Linked DNA regions of Homo sapiens: region 1 is linked to region 2. The links are contacts of gene promoters, found by promoter capture Hi-C in blood cells and fetal thymus (Javierre and others, 2016). All regions are on one chromosome and are shown on one strand. Each heading gives the region's core, a stretch centred on a gene start or on the middle of the fragment in contact. The rest is flanking DNA. Distances are from core to core; before and after follow the strand shown.

What was found. The method cuts DNA at HindIII sites, captures the fragments that hold promoters and counts their contacts. A CHiCAGO score of 5 or more calls a contact.
Region 1: a contact is called between a fragment that was not itself captured here and the fragment with the promoter of AP4E1 in region 2, in 1 of 17 cell types (total CD8 T cells). The highest score is 5.8, in total CD8 T cells.

The regions. Positions count from the first base shown.
Region 1 is chr15:48,869,195-48,875,755 of GRCh38, forward strand. It overlaps SHC4 (SHC adaptor protein 4), which reads right to left. Exons shown (of 12, transcript NM_203349.4): 5 at 2,895-2,948. Among named protein-coding and RNA genes, the nearest start is that of EID1, 5.7 kb to the right of the region's middle. RefSeq lists a silencer at 5,129-5,450. The HindIII fragment of the contact is 1,269 bases long and covers 1,341-2,609 here.
Region 2 is chr15:50,903,966-50,910,799 of GRCh38, forward strand. It overlaps AP4E1 (adaptor related protein complex 4 subunit epsilon 1), which reads left to right and starts at 4,718. Exons shown (of 21, transcript NM_007347.5): 1 at 4,718-4,963. The coding sequence starts at 4,814. RefSeq lists enhancers at 4,311-5,052, 4,527-4,816, 4,837-5,006, 5,053-5,794. The HindIII fragment of the contact is 3,809 bases long and covers 1,310-5,118 here.

The DNA of each region.
Region 1 (6,561 bases), core at 725-3,224, 2.0 Mb before region 2:
GCACTTTTTAAGTGGAGAAAGTATATATAGTTATAGAGGCATTACCAACAACTGTTTTCAGGGCTGACGGATGGAAAACAACTGTTTTTGCAAAGAGAGTAAAAATGAGGGTGAGCAAAGGCCAAGAGATGAGAAGGCTATTCATTATTTTTGAAATTTTGGAGGAAATCTTGTAGAAAGATTACTATGTTGGACCTCAGGGACTTTTAAGTCAGCTTCCTACCCTTGTACACAGTTCACTGTGAAGCTGTAAACGATCTCAGTTAATATCCTAAAACAAATATGGGTATGTGTTAGCAATTGTGGTAGTAGTTACTTCTTGTGACTGTGTGCCAGGACCTGCGCTAACACTAACCATGTATCATTTCACTTAATTCCCACAACACTGTCAGGCAATAGGGATTATCCTCCATTTACATATGAGGACTCTGGAGTTTAGGGAGTTTAAATAAGTCACGTCTACTTGACTCCAAAGCCTGGCAGTACATAATACTGCCTCCCTGACCTGATGGTAAAACTTCATAGAGATGATTTCTAATGCCAATGCTTAGGGTGGCTCCAGACTTCTATTTTACTAGACAGGTGCTTTAACCAACCAAGCCATGGCACCGCCGCCAGATTTCTACTTTAAATTAGAATCAACAGGCTTTCTCACCAGCTTTAGAGAGCACAGAGGTGCTCTCAATGCAGCAGGTACAAACTTTCCCATAGTGGCCACAAATTATTTAATGTTTGTTTTTTATAGGAACAGTGGTTTGGTCAATTTAAAGAACTAAAGGCACATGAAGAGAGTATGAAAAAAATTAAGATTCTGGAGAACAATAACAGAAATCATTCAGGGCATGCCTTGAGTAAATGTTTGCGCACCAATTCTAACATGATGACAACCCTTAAGAAATTTAGGGCAAATGCCAATAATTATTTTTCACACTACATGTATAAACACTACTTTAAATCTCTTAAGAAAAGTATTTGAGTTCCTTCATGGATGACTGAGCTAGGGAGAAGAGAAAGTGCTGGTATTTTTCAGCCTGGATTCAGTTGACCCTCCCTGCCAGCCACCATCCTTGGTGTTGCTATTGAGGCCAGATTACAAGGCTGGATGGAAAAGAGTCCAGATAGGCTCTTGGGCTCAAATAGCAGCTGCTAAGCACCAGACACCTTGTATGTCCCTTGTTTGCTAATGGGAATTCACAATTAGGCATCTGTGGAATTTCTTGGGGAAAAGGTGGAACTCTTAACATTTGGTTTACTTTTAAAAATGGCAGCATCATGGAACTAATATATAATAGTTATTTGAAAATAACTATACCCCAGGCTAAAAGATGAGGAAGTAGTAAAGCTTAAAGGGGAAACTGGATATCCATTAATTAGAAAACAAGGGTTTGAAATCCTGTAAAGGCTGCTTTTCTTCCATATGCTTCGTGAGCCAAGATCGTGCCACTGCACTCCAGCCTGAGTGACAAGAGTGAGACGCCGTCTCAAAAAAAAAAAAAGCATGTCTTGGTTTGACATGCTTAAATACTTTAGGTCATTGGTAGCCAATGTGAAGACAAGTAATTATTGAAGTGTTTTTAAGAATTGGCTAATTTAGCTATATATTTTATACACAGGTAAGTTACACCAACACCCAAGAGGAAGAACCTGCTTAAATGCTTTAGATGCCAGTAAATGAAGCAATGATTACAGAGTAACTTCAGAACTTTACTTCCTTTTAGGATATACAATTATTTCTCCCCCATTGAATATTTAGCAAAAAGTTTAAAACAAATGAAAACTACCATGGTATCAGCTGCCAGATTTAGTTTTTAGCATCCTCTATATCTTTCTTGGGTTTCTAGGTTATTGTCCTATCATTTATGACTCTACATTTTATTCCTCAATTACAGGTGAAAACTAAATGTGGTGGATAGAAAACAATCAATGGTTAAACTGAATTGTATTGGTTCGTTCCTGAAGGATATAATCTTTTCTTTAAAAAATGCTTTGCAGAAAAGAAGGTAATACATTCTGAGTAAGAACAAGGTCTGTGTATGTTCCCCCTGCTTTCTTGACATGGCTGATGTTTAACCATTATGAAAGTCATACTCCATCCTCTTCTAACCTTTCATCAAAACATATGGAAGATTAGAAGAGGAAAGAGTACAATAAAAAGACCAATAATGTCACAGAGTGGCAAAAGTATTCTTCTACTCCCTCAGTTTAAACAGATTTGCTTCTTGCTCAGTTGCAGGCTCCCTAGCTTCAAAGCCCCTCTCCTTTTGCTGTGGTCCAGAAATGGTGCAGTAGGGAGTCAAGGAATGACACTCCATTCTGCAGAGTAGGCTTGGAGAAATCCTGTACAATTTCTGGGAAGTGAGTATCACATGACCCCATCTTGGTAGAGAAGAACTACAAGTTCTCTCTCCCCAGCTCAGCATTTCCTCCATGAGTTCCTGCAAACCTGGTTGCTCATTCCAGATTAGACTTAGTTGACTTGGTTGATATATCAAGTCCAGTTGATTAGTAAAGTGTTCCAGAAACTCTGTGTTGAGAAGAATTCTAAGGAAGGATTGAGCAACACATGTATGACATACTTGCTTTTCATGACCTAGATATTATCAACAAGAAGCTTATTAGATGATAACTCCATGGCTAATAACACAATGGAGCACTACTAGCTCATCTACTAATCCAAGTATTTTAAAATTTAATAATAGGAAATGTTTGCCTAAAGAAAATATTTTATTATCTGCTACATGTAGCTATTCACAGACTGTAATAGTATGTTAGGAAAAGACATGTAGTGGCTAATATGGTTTATGTAAAAGTTATTTTATTTTATTATCATCCAGCCCCAAATGTCAAGAAGTTATTTTAACTCATAAAAAGAACTTCTGTGAATCCATACTTACAGGATCCCCTCCAGAGGCAAATGAAATAGACTGCATATGATGATTTGCAATAATCTGAAAAACATAAACATGTATACTAATATAAATTAATTGTTATTTCTAGTTATATACAGTCTAACAGTAATAGACATACATTTGTTTGTTTTGTTTTTGCCTGATCAGCATCCCTTTGAAAACCACCCAACCTACACTCTATAATAATCTCATTTAAACCACGAGATTCTGATGATTTTGTGATGCCCATCTCACTGCCCTTGCCCACCCAGGTGGAACATTATCTAGGGCTAGCCAATCAGAAAATACCATCTCTCTGGATACAGCAGAGCCAATCAATGTATTTTGGGAAGAACTGAAATGAATAATAGGAGAGAAAGCATCTCTCTCTGCCATTAAAAACTATGTAAGCCCAAAGCTTCTAGGGGCCATATTATGCTGCCATGTGAGAAAAGTCTGCTGGAATATGAAGCTTTTCTTCTGATGAAAATCGGAACTGAGAACTAAAAATAGGAAAAAAGTCTGGTGGTAACATTTGTTCCATCACTTTAACCAATATATTTCACCCTCTCCCTTTATATTTTTGTTTCTTTTTGCAAAAGTTAGTTTGAATTTGATTTCAGTCATTCACTACTAAATGTATCCTGAGTAAGGCACTAACATTAGGACTTCTAATATGAGTAAGAATCGCCAAGTAACCACATTAATTAGCTAAGAAGATTGTCTTCTATTTGAGAGTCTAGGATTGCTTGTTTGCAAACCACAGTGTAATGACCATTTGCAGAGACATATCTGTCATGCTATTTTGAAGGTTCATTAAAACACCAACTATGCACCTATTGACTAATCCTGCTTTCAAAATTGTGTGACAGAATCTACCAAAGCTGATTATATAAGATGACCAGCAATTTTATTCCTAGACGTATATCCAACACAATTGTGTAAATATGTGCAACAAAAAATATTCTCAAAGAAGACAATAACTGCCCTGTTCATAACAGCCCTAAATTGGAAACAATTCCAATGATGACTATTGTAATATTCAATGGTGGCATACTATATAGCAGCAACATGTTTGCTGAGCAAAAGAAGTCTAACACAAAGAATATACTGCATGGCTTAATTTATATGAAGTTCAAAACTAGGCAAAATTATGGTATTTGAAATCAGAACAGTGGTTATTTCTGGAGCACAGGAAGAAGGGGCAAAAGATTTTCTGGGATTGCTGGAGTTTCTTGATCTGAATATTGGTTATACAACTGTTCATTTTGTGATAATTATTACGGACTTATTATCTGTGTACTTGTCTACATTTATATTTCAGTAAAAACAAAGTCAATATACAAAGATCAATGTCATTCCCATATATCAACAATAGTCGGCCGGGCGCAGTGGCTCACGCCTGTAATCCCAACCCTTTGGGAGGCCGTGGCGGGCGGATCATGAGGTCAGGAGATTGAGACCATCCTAGCTAACACAGTGAAACCCCATCTCTACTAAAAATACAAAAAATTAGCTGGGCGTGGTGGGCACCTGTAGTCCCCGCTACTCAGGAGTCTGAGGCAGGAGAATGGTGTGAACCCGGGAGGCGGAGCTTGCAGTGAGCTGAGATCATGCCACTGCACTCCAGCCTGGGCTACAGAGCGAGACTCCGTCTCAAAAAAAAAAACAGAAAAATAGCCAATTAGACACTGTATTTTGGGGAGAAAGGTACACTTTGTAAGAGTACTTTAGTACAAAACTAATAAGAATCATGTAATGCTTTTTGGAAAACTTCACTGAAGAGTATAAATAAGATCTGAACAAGTAGAAAGATATATATCACTCTCATGGATGAGAAGATGGTATTACAAAGGTGTCAATCCTACCCCAGATTAATTTATAAATTCCATGCAATTCCAATAAAAATGCTTCTAAAATTCATATGGAAGAATAAATGTGCAAGAACAGCTAAAGCAAATTTTAAAAGAACAAATGCATAAGAATTCCCTTATAAGATAATAAGAAATATTATAATATCACATTCAAGATGCTCCTAAATTCATATGAAAGAATAAATGCACAAGAAGAGTTAGCGCAGTTTTTTAAAGAACAAAGACAAAATATTCCTGATCAAACAGCAAGATATAAAACTGTAAAAATGTCACAAGAATTCAAAGTCTAAAAATAGACTCATGTATTTAAGAACTTTTAGTCTATGATAAATCTGACACCAAGCAGCAGTCAGCCAGAAATCATGTGTCCATGGTGAGAAGAACTAGAGCAGGGGCTCCCGACTCCCCTGGCCAGAGACCAAGTACCAGTCCGTGGCCTGTTAGGAACCGGGCTGCAGAGGAGGTGAGCAGTGGATGAGCAAGAGAAGCTTCATGTGTATGTACTGCTGCTCCCCGTTGCTCACATTACTGTCTGAGTTCTGCCTCCTGTCAGATCAGTGGCGACATTAGATTCTCATAGGAGAATGAACCCTATTGTGAACTACACATACGAGGGATCTAGGTTGCATGCTCCTTATGAGAATCTAATGCTTGATGACCTGAGGTAGAGCTGAGGTGGTGACGCTAGTGCTGGGGAGTGGCTGCAAATACAGATTAACAATAGCAGAGAGGTTTGACTGCACAGAGACCATAATAAATCAATTGCTTGCAGACTCATATCAAAACCCTATCGGTAAGTAGCAAGTGACACTTAAGTTGCATCTGGTGGCAGGCTACATAGTGGCAAGTGAGTTGATGTACTTCAGTTGTACAGCTGCAGCTGATGGCAGGCTTTAAGTCTGAATCCGACTATTTTAGTTTGTTCCTGACCCGCCCATTATTTTATTTACCACTCCCATCCATGTCTCTTTCCTGCACCATGCACTTTCTCGGTCACAGTTTTGGTAAGCCCATAAGCTAACCCTAGCCAAAATGAGTAAAAAACAAACTTCACTGGAGAGGTTCTTTGAAAAGGGGGAAAGATCCAGTGATGAGACTGCAGAAGACTTTAAGACTGCCAACAAAAATAAAGCTGCATTTAAAAGAAAATATCAAGAGTCCTACTTAAAATACCAGTTCATTACAACAGGTGATTCACATTATCCAAGCTTGCTTTGCATAACATGTAGCAAGTGGCTATCTAACAAAGCCATGAAGCCTTCTAAACTGCTTTGTCACATGGAGACCACACACCCTGCATTAATACTAAGCCTTTGGAGTTTTTCAAAAGAAAACAATGTGAACACAAAGAATAGAAGAAATTATTGAAGGCCACCACTTCATCAGATGTGTTTGCACTGAGAGCATCATTCTTAGTGGCTAACCACATTGCTAAAGCTAAGAAGTCCTTTACTATTGATGAAGAGTTGATCCTGCCTGCTTCTAAGGACATTTGTCATGAACTTTCAGGAGAGGCTGCAGTTCAAAAGGTGGCATGTGTTCCTCTTTTGGCTAGCACCACAACTAGATGAACTGATGAAATATCAGAGGATAATGAGGCACAATTGTTAGAAAGGAACAATGCTTTTTTGTGTGTGATATATTTTGCAGGAGGATGTGAATGAGGATATGCTATATGCACTTTTGTTGCCAACCAGCACCACAGATGCAGAACTATTCAAGTCTTTGAATGATTACATATCAGGAAAGTGGAATCAGTCATTTTGCATCGGTATATGCATGGGTGGAGCAGCTGCCAT
Region 2 (6,834 bases), core at 3,468-5,967:
TCCTGCCTCAGCCTCCCAAGTAGCTGGGATTACAGGCATGTGCCACCACGCGCAGGTAATTTTGCATTTTTAGTAGAGATGGGGTTTCACCACGTTGGCCAGGCTGGTTTCGAACCCCTGACCTCAGGTGCTCTGCCCGCCTCAGCCTCCCAAAGTGCTGGGATTATAGGCCTGAGCCACCACACCCGGCCAAAAGAAAAGCCTCAGGATTTAAGAGTTTATACTTTATGAGGTTGTACTTTATGAGTACTTCCCATTTTGTCACAAAAAAAATTTTTTAAAAAGTGCACTCAAAGACTGAAATTTAATAAAATTAAGAATTCTTACTGCTTCATCAAGGATATTCTTAAGTGAAACTGACTTAAAAAAAATTGAGTGTATTGTTCCAGGATAAACTATGAGATTCAAAGAAGTTGTTCAATACATTATTTCATCACCACTTGTGTTTCTTGTCAAGATTTATGTAAAAGAGGATCTTCAAGAATTAGTTGGTGCTGACACTGGATGGGTATAAGCAAAGCAACAAGTCCAGCTACATGAATAATTATGTCCATTTTAAAGGAATTATAATTCTGCAGATGACATAGTAACTCAGTCTTTATATTTGCAACTAAATTTCTTTCTTTTTTTTGAGACAGTCTTGCTCTGTTGTCCAGGCTGGAGTGCCGTGGCACCATCTCAGCTCACTGTAACCTCTGCCTCCCAGGTTCAAGTGATTCTCCAGCCTCAGCCTCCCGAATAACTGGGATTACAGGCATGTACCACCATGCCCAGCTAATTTTTTTTTTTTGTATTTTTAGTAGAGACAGGGTTTCACCATATTGGCCAGGTTGGTCTCAAACTCCTGATCTCAAGTTATCCGCCTGCCTTGGCCTCCCAAAATTCAGGGATTACAGGCATGAGCCACCTCGCCTGGCCTGCAACTAAATGTCTAATTTGGTGAGTTATTGCATCTTTGGAAAGTAGCACTCCCATGAGTTCTTTTACTGATTATCAGCTAGCAGGCATTCATTAGTCTTTTAGCTATTGCATGTCCTTCTCCTATCAATGAAATATAATAATTTCATGTGTAAGATGCTTCAGTAGGTTTTTCATTTTTACTTTGAAAATGGTAATACAAAAGCTTTGGCTTTTATAAAGCATATCATCTCTATGTTGAAAGTATTAAATTCCCTTTCTTTTAAATTCTGACTGGTCTGAAAATGATGCCTCAACTTGATTGGCACCATAATAGTATTTGAAAATGTTCTGTTGAATGACATAAAATAAGGCAAGTGATTAACATCTCTAATGCCAAGGGAAAGAAAGAAGCTTTTGTCATACTTTCCTTTGTTATTTATAGTTTCGACCAGATTTCTCCCTTTCCCTGAGTCAGTGAATTCTGATACTGATGTCAGCTTCATCTTTTTCGGCATCTTTACAGACGGGAAGGTTAGAAAGCGAATCTTCTAGTATCCCCTTTTTAAGCCAATGGAAGAACCTAAAATTAAAAAACTATACATAAAACAAAATTTAATTTAAAGATAAAATATTAAATTCCTTTTTTTTTTGGAGACAGAGTCTTGCTCTGTCACCCAGGCTGGAGTACAGTGGTGCGATCTTGGCTCACTGCAACCTTCGCCTCCTAGGTTCAAGCAATTCTCCTGCCTCAGCTTCCCAAGTAGTTGGGACTACAGGTGTGCCACCATGCCCGGCTAAATTTTTTGTATTTTTTTTTTTTTGAGGTGGAGTCTTGCTCTGTCGCCCACGCTGGAGTGCAGTGGTGAAATCTCGGCTCACTGCAACCTCCGCCTCCCGGGTCCCAGCAATTCTCCTGCCTCAGCCTCCCGAGTAGCTGGGATTACGGGCGCACGCCACCATGCCCGGCTAATTTCTGTATTTTTTTAGTAGAGTCATAGGTTGGCCAGGCTGGTCTTGATATCCTGACCTTGTGGTCTGTGCACCTTGGCCTCCCAAAGTGCTGTGATTACAGGTGGGAGCCACCGTGCCTGTCCGAATATTTTGTATTTTTAGTAGAGACGGGGTTTCACCATGTTGGCCAGGTTGGTCTGGAACTCCTGAGCTCAGACAATCTGCCCGCCTTGGCCTCCCAAAGTGCTAGAATATAGGCATAAACCACCGCGCCCGGACGACAAAATATTAAATTCTAGGCAGGGCGTGGTGGCTCACACCTGTAATCCCAGCACTTTGAGTGGCTGAGGCGGGCAGATCATGAGGTCAGGAGACCGAGGCCATCCTGGCCAACGTGGTGAAACCACATCTCTACTAAAAATACAAAAAATTAGCCGGGTGTGGTGGCACGCACCTGTAATCCCAGCTACTCGGGAGGCTGAGGCAGGAGAACTGCTTGAACCTGGGAGGCGGAGGTTGCAGTGGGCCGAGATCACACCACTGCACTCCATCCTGGGCAACAGAGCGAGACACCATCTCAAAAAATAATAATAAAATAACAAAATTAAATTCTAAAAGAGTATCCCTTTCTGGCTGGGCGCAGTGGCTCGCGCTTGTAATCCCAGCACTTTGGGAGGCTGAGGTGGGCGGATCACCTGAGGTCAGGAGTTCGAGACCAGCCTGGCCAAAATGGTGAAACTCTGTGTTTACTAAAAATACAAAAATTAGCCGGGCATGGTGGCGGGCGCCTGTAATCCCAGCTACTCGGGAGGCTGAGGCAGGAGAATTGCTTGAACCCAGGGGGAGGAGGCTGCAGTGAACCCAGATTGTGCCACTGCATTCCAGTCTGGGTGATAGAGCGAGACTCTGAAAAAAAAAAAATTAAATGAATAAATGAGTATCCCTTTTAGATAAAGTTTAAATATTTTAAAATGTTCTCAATATATTAAAAAATATTCTTGCGAGACAAGCCAACAAATTGAACTTTTTTCTTATGTTCCCATATAGGTATTAAAACAACTTCAGGATTTCAAAAAAACTCATTTATTAGGTGACAAGGAGGTTACAGAGATTAGAGCAGGTATAACCGAAGATAGCTTGTAAGTGTAGCTGTAGCTGGTGGGCCGGTTGAGGTTCTGGACTTCGCGGTGCAAAATAATTTTGAAGTCCAAAGTAAAAGCAAGCAAAAGAGTTTATTGCAAAGCGAAAGTACACCCTCACAGCTGATCAGAGCGGGCTGCTCAAAGGTGAGACAGCATGCACTGACACTGGGGAAACTCCCTTTGTAGGAGTCTCACAGGATCATTCATGAAGCGGGGAGAACGGGTGCTGCTATTAAGCACGTTCTCTGGTTTTCTGTCGCCATGTGCGCTGTGGTTGTATATGCTAGTACATACACTGCATGTCTTATTAGTATCTTAAATCTTCACCCAGGAGTGGTGTTTTTTTTTTTTTTTTTTTTTTACTATTATAATGAGTATAATTCAGCCCAACGACACTGATCATGGGTTTCTGCGCTTGTGAGAGTTTGGGGATTTTCCCTTCTGCTCTCGTACCTCTTTGCTGCAAAATTTTCTAACCAGGAGCCTCGGATGTGGTTTGTACACTATGGGCTGGTTTGTTCTATTTATTTAGCAAGTTTGTTCCCCTTGAAGGGAGGCTATCACCACCTACCTAACCTACCTCCTAGAAACACACTAGGAGTACTGAGAGCAAATTGCATTAATCTCTGAAAACGCACGTATTTATGCCCTAAACCTACTACCTTAGAAAATTCTAGAAAACACAAGGATACTCCAGGATACATTTTACCAGCTAGTCAATCGTCATCTAGCCGCTTGAAAACTCTGTACATTTCCAACAGAATGAGGGTAAAAACGGCAAATAACACGTAAGAAACGTTATCAATGTTGTTTTGACTTTGTGAATTCCCTAGAAGGGTCTCAGCGACCCTGAGGTCACCAGACCACATTTCGAGAGCCATTGTACCAGACTCTGTTCTAGATAAAAGACGGAGCAATCGGAATGAATAAAATACTCTCTCTATGGGGAGCTGTTTACGTAGTGGCAACTGCGACCTGTTCTAAAGTGGAACAGAACCGAGCGCTGTGAGAGGGTGGGACTTGGAGACCTATCCTTGCCCGCCGGGCCAGGGGAGTGGGCTCTAGAAGGATGACCTTTCAACTGCGACCTGCTGAGGAGGAGTCGGCAAGGGTGGCCGCCGACCAGTTCTCTTTCCCGCCCACCTCCCCAAATCCCAGGAGAAGAGGGGCGGACGGGAAGCGACAGTGGCCGCGAGTCCCCGGCACGCGACGGGCTCTCAACCTGGCACGCCGAATCCTCAGGACAGCCCCGCTATCACGCAACTACTCGGGTGTCCCAAGAGTCGCCAGGGCCGGAGCCGCGCGCGGCGCCGGGGACCCGCGTGAAACCGCCTGTGGGAAGCGGGCGGGTGGCGCGCGCTCCGGGGACAGTGAGAGGCGGCGGACGGCGCGGGGACGTCCCGAAAAAGGCGCAGCCAGGAAGACGCAACTCCTGACGCGGTCTCGGGCTACGCGGAGGCGGCTAGTGGGAAAGGGGGACTCTGGGAGACAGTGCCTAACAGGGCCAGGCCCCCGACGGCTTCCTCAGGAGGACTCACGGTTCTGGGGGATTCCGGAACCGCTACCCCGTCGCGAGAAAGGAGGTCTACTTACGCGCGCAATCTCGAGCGAGCGGCCTTTTCCACCCCCGCGGTCTCTTGCGCCCTCTGGTGGCCTCTCGCGAGAACGACGCTGAACTTGTTCAGGTGGGACGCCAATAAAGATTTCTTATTCAAAAAACAGGAAGTGCCTACGGAGGCCGGGCCGGCAGCGGCGGCCGGGCATGAAGCCGGGCGGCTACGGGATCGCGGGCGGCGGCGGCATCGCGGGCGGCGGCGGCGATGAGCGACATAGTGGAGAAGACGCTGACGGCGCTGCCGGGACTCTTTCTGCAGAACCAGCCCGGTGGTGGGCCCGCGGCCGCCAAGGCGTCCTTCTCCTCGAGGCTGGGCAGCCTTGTCCGCGGCATCACAGCCCTCACCTCCAAGCACGTAGGTGCCCGCCGGCCCGGGAGCTCAGGGACATCGGAGTGAGGCCCCCGCGCCAGGAGGCCCTGGCCGGGCGGCGAGACTTCAGGGCCTCTGGGGTTAGCCCTCCGGCGGGGCTCAGGGGCTGCTGTGTCGGTTCGTCCTTTCGTCTGCCTGGAAGCTTCACTTTCCTGCTGGGACTGACAGCAGGGAAGCCGAGTTTCCACAGTTAGTTCTGACACTGACTCTTTGATCGGGGGCACATCTCTGTAACCTCTGAGCCTCCGTGTGTTTTCTCAACGTTGTGGTGGAAAAGTACTGATACATAATTCATAGGTTTTTTGTTTGTTTTGAGGATTGGGTGAGATGTCAAGCGTGTGAAAATACCTAGTGCGATGGAAGTGTCAGACATTATTTACCTTCCACAAAGTTTTTTTTCCCTACTCAGTTTCCTTCTCTCCCCCGGTGCCTTCAACTGAACAACAGTTCAGATGTCGCATACCTGAAGAGATCCTGTGAGCCTCTTGTTGAATATCTTTGGGGAGCTTGAGGTTCTTGGGTTACAACAACGTGTTGGGCAAAGAAAAAGCACAGTTCTCTCAAAATGTAAAATTTGCTAAGTCTCTGCCTCAAGTGGGCTTTGAAAATGAGCAGTTATAAAAATTCTTAAACTTTTAAAATTTTTAAATTTTTATTGACGGAGTCTCTCTCTGTCGCCCAGGCTGGAGTGCAATGGTGCGATCTCGATCTCGGCTCGCTGGAGCCTTAAGGTTTTAAAAATTTTAATTTTTGTTTTTTTTTGAGACGGAGTCTCGCTCTGTCGCGCAGGCTGGAGTGCAGTGGCGCGATCTGGGCTCACTACAAGCTCCGCCTTCCGGGTTCACGCCATTCTCCTGCCTCAGCTTCCCGAGTAGCTGGGACTACAAGTGCCCGCCACTGCCTGGCTAATTTTTTGTACTTTTCGTAGAGACGGGGTTTCACCGTGTTAGCGAGGATGGTCTCGATCTCCTGACCTCGCGATCCGCCCGCCTTGGCGTCCCAAAGTGTTGGGATTACGTGCGTGAGCTACCCTGCCCGGCCTTAAAATTTTTAAATTTTTAATGACGGAGTCTCGCTCTGTCGCCCAGGCTGGAGTGCGATGGTGCGATCTTGGCTCACTGGAGCGTCTGCCTCCCGGGTTCAAGCGATTCTCCTGCCTCAGCCTCCCAAGTAGCTGGGATTATAGGCGTATGCCACTACGCCCGGCTAATTTTTGTATTTTTAGTAGAGACAGGATTTCACCATGTTGGGCAGGCTGGTCTTGAACTGACCTCAAGTGTTCGCTCACTTCGGCCTCCCAAAGTGCTGGGATTACAGGCATGAGCCACCGCGCCGGGCCCCCACAGGCGCTCGATGGTTGCACGGATTGTGTAGTATACCGATTCACAGCTACAAGGAGTTTATATCTTAAAAAGAGCACGTGTTAATGTCATTATTTGTTCAACAGATGTTTATGGAACAAGGTTATGTGTTAGACACAGGAAAATAGAATTAAACACATTCCCTTTTCCCAAGGAATTAGTCATTCGTTTTGGGCTTAAGACAAGTATAAGCATGACTACAATGCAATAGAAGTGCTAAAAGAGAAGGAAAGACAGAAAAGAAAGTGCTCTGAAGGTTTAAAAAAAATATTTTTTTGGCAGCTCTAATAAGTTGATGCTATCCGGAGAGAACCTGCTTCACATTCCAGAATCATTACTTGTGGGCTTGTCTTGTTTTGTTTTGTTTTTGAGATGGAGTCTCACTCTGTCGCCCAGGCTGGAATGCAGTGGTGCAATCTTGGCTCACTGCAACTTCTGCTTCCTGGGTTCAAGTGATTCTTCTGCCTCAGCCTCCCTGGTAGCTGGGATTACAGG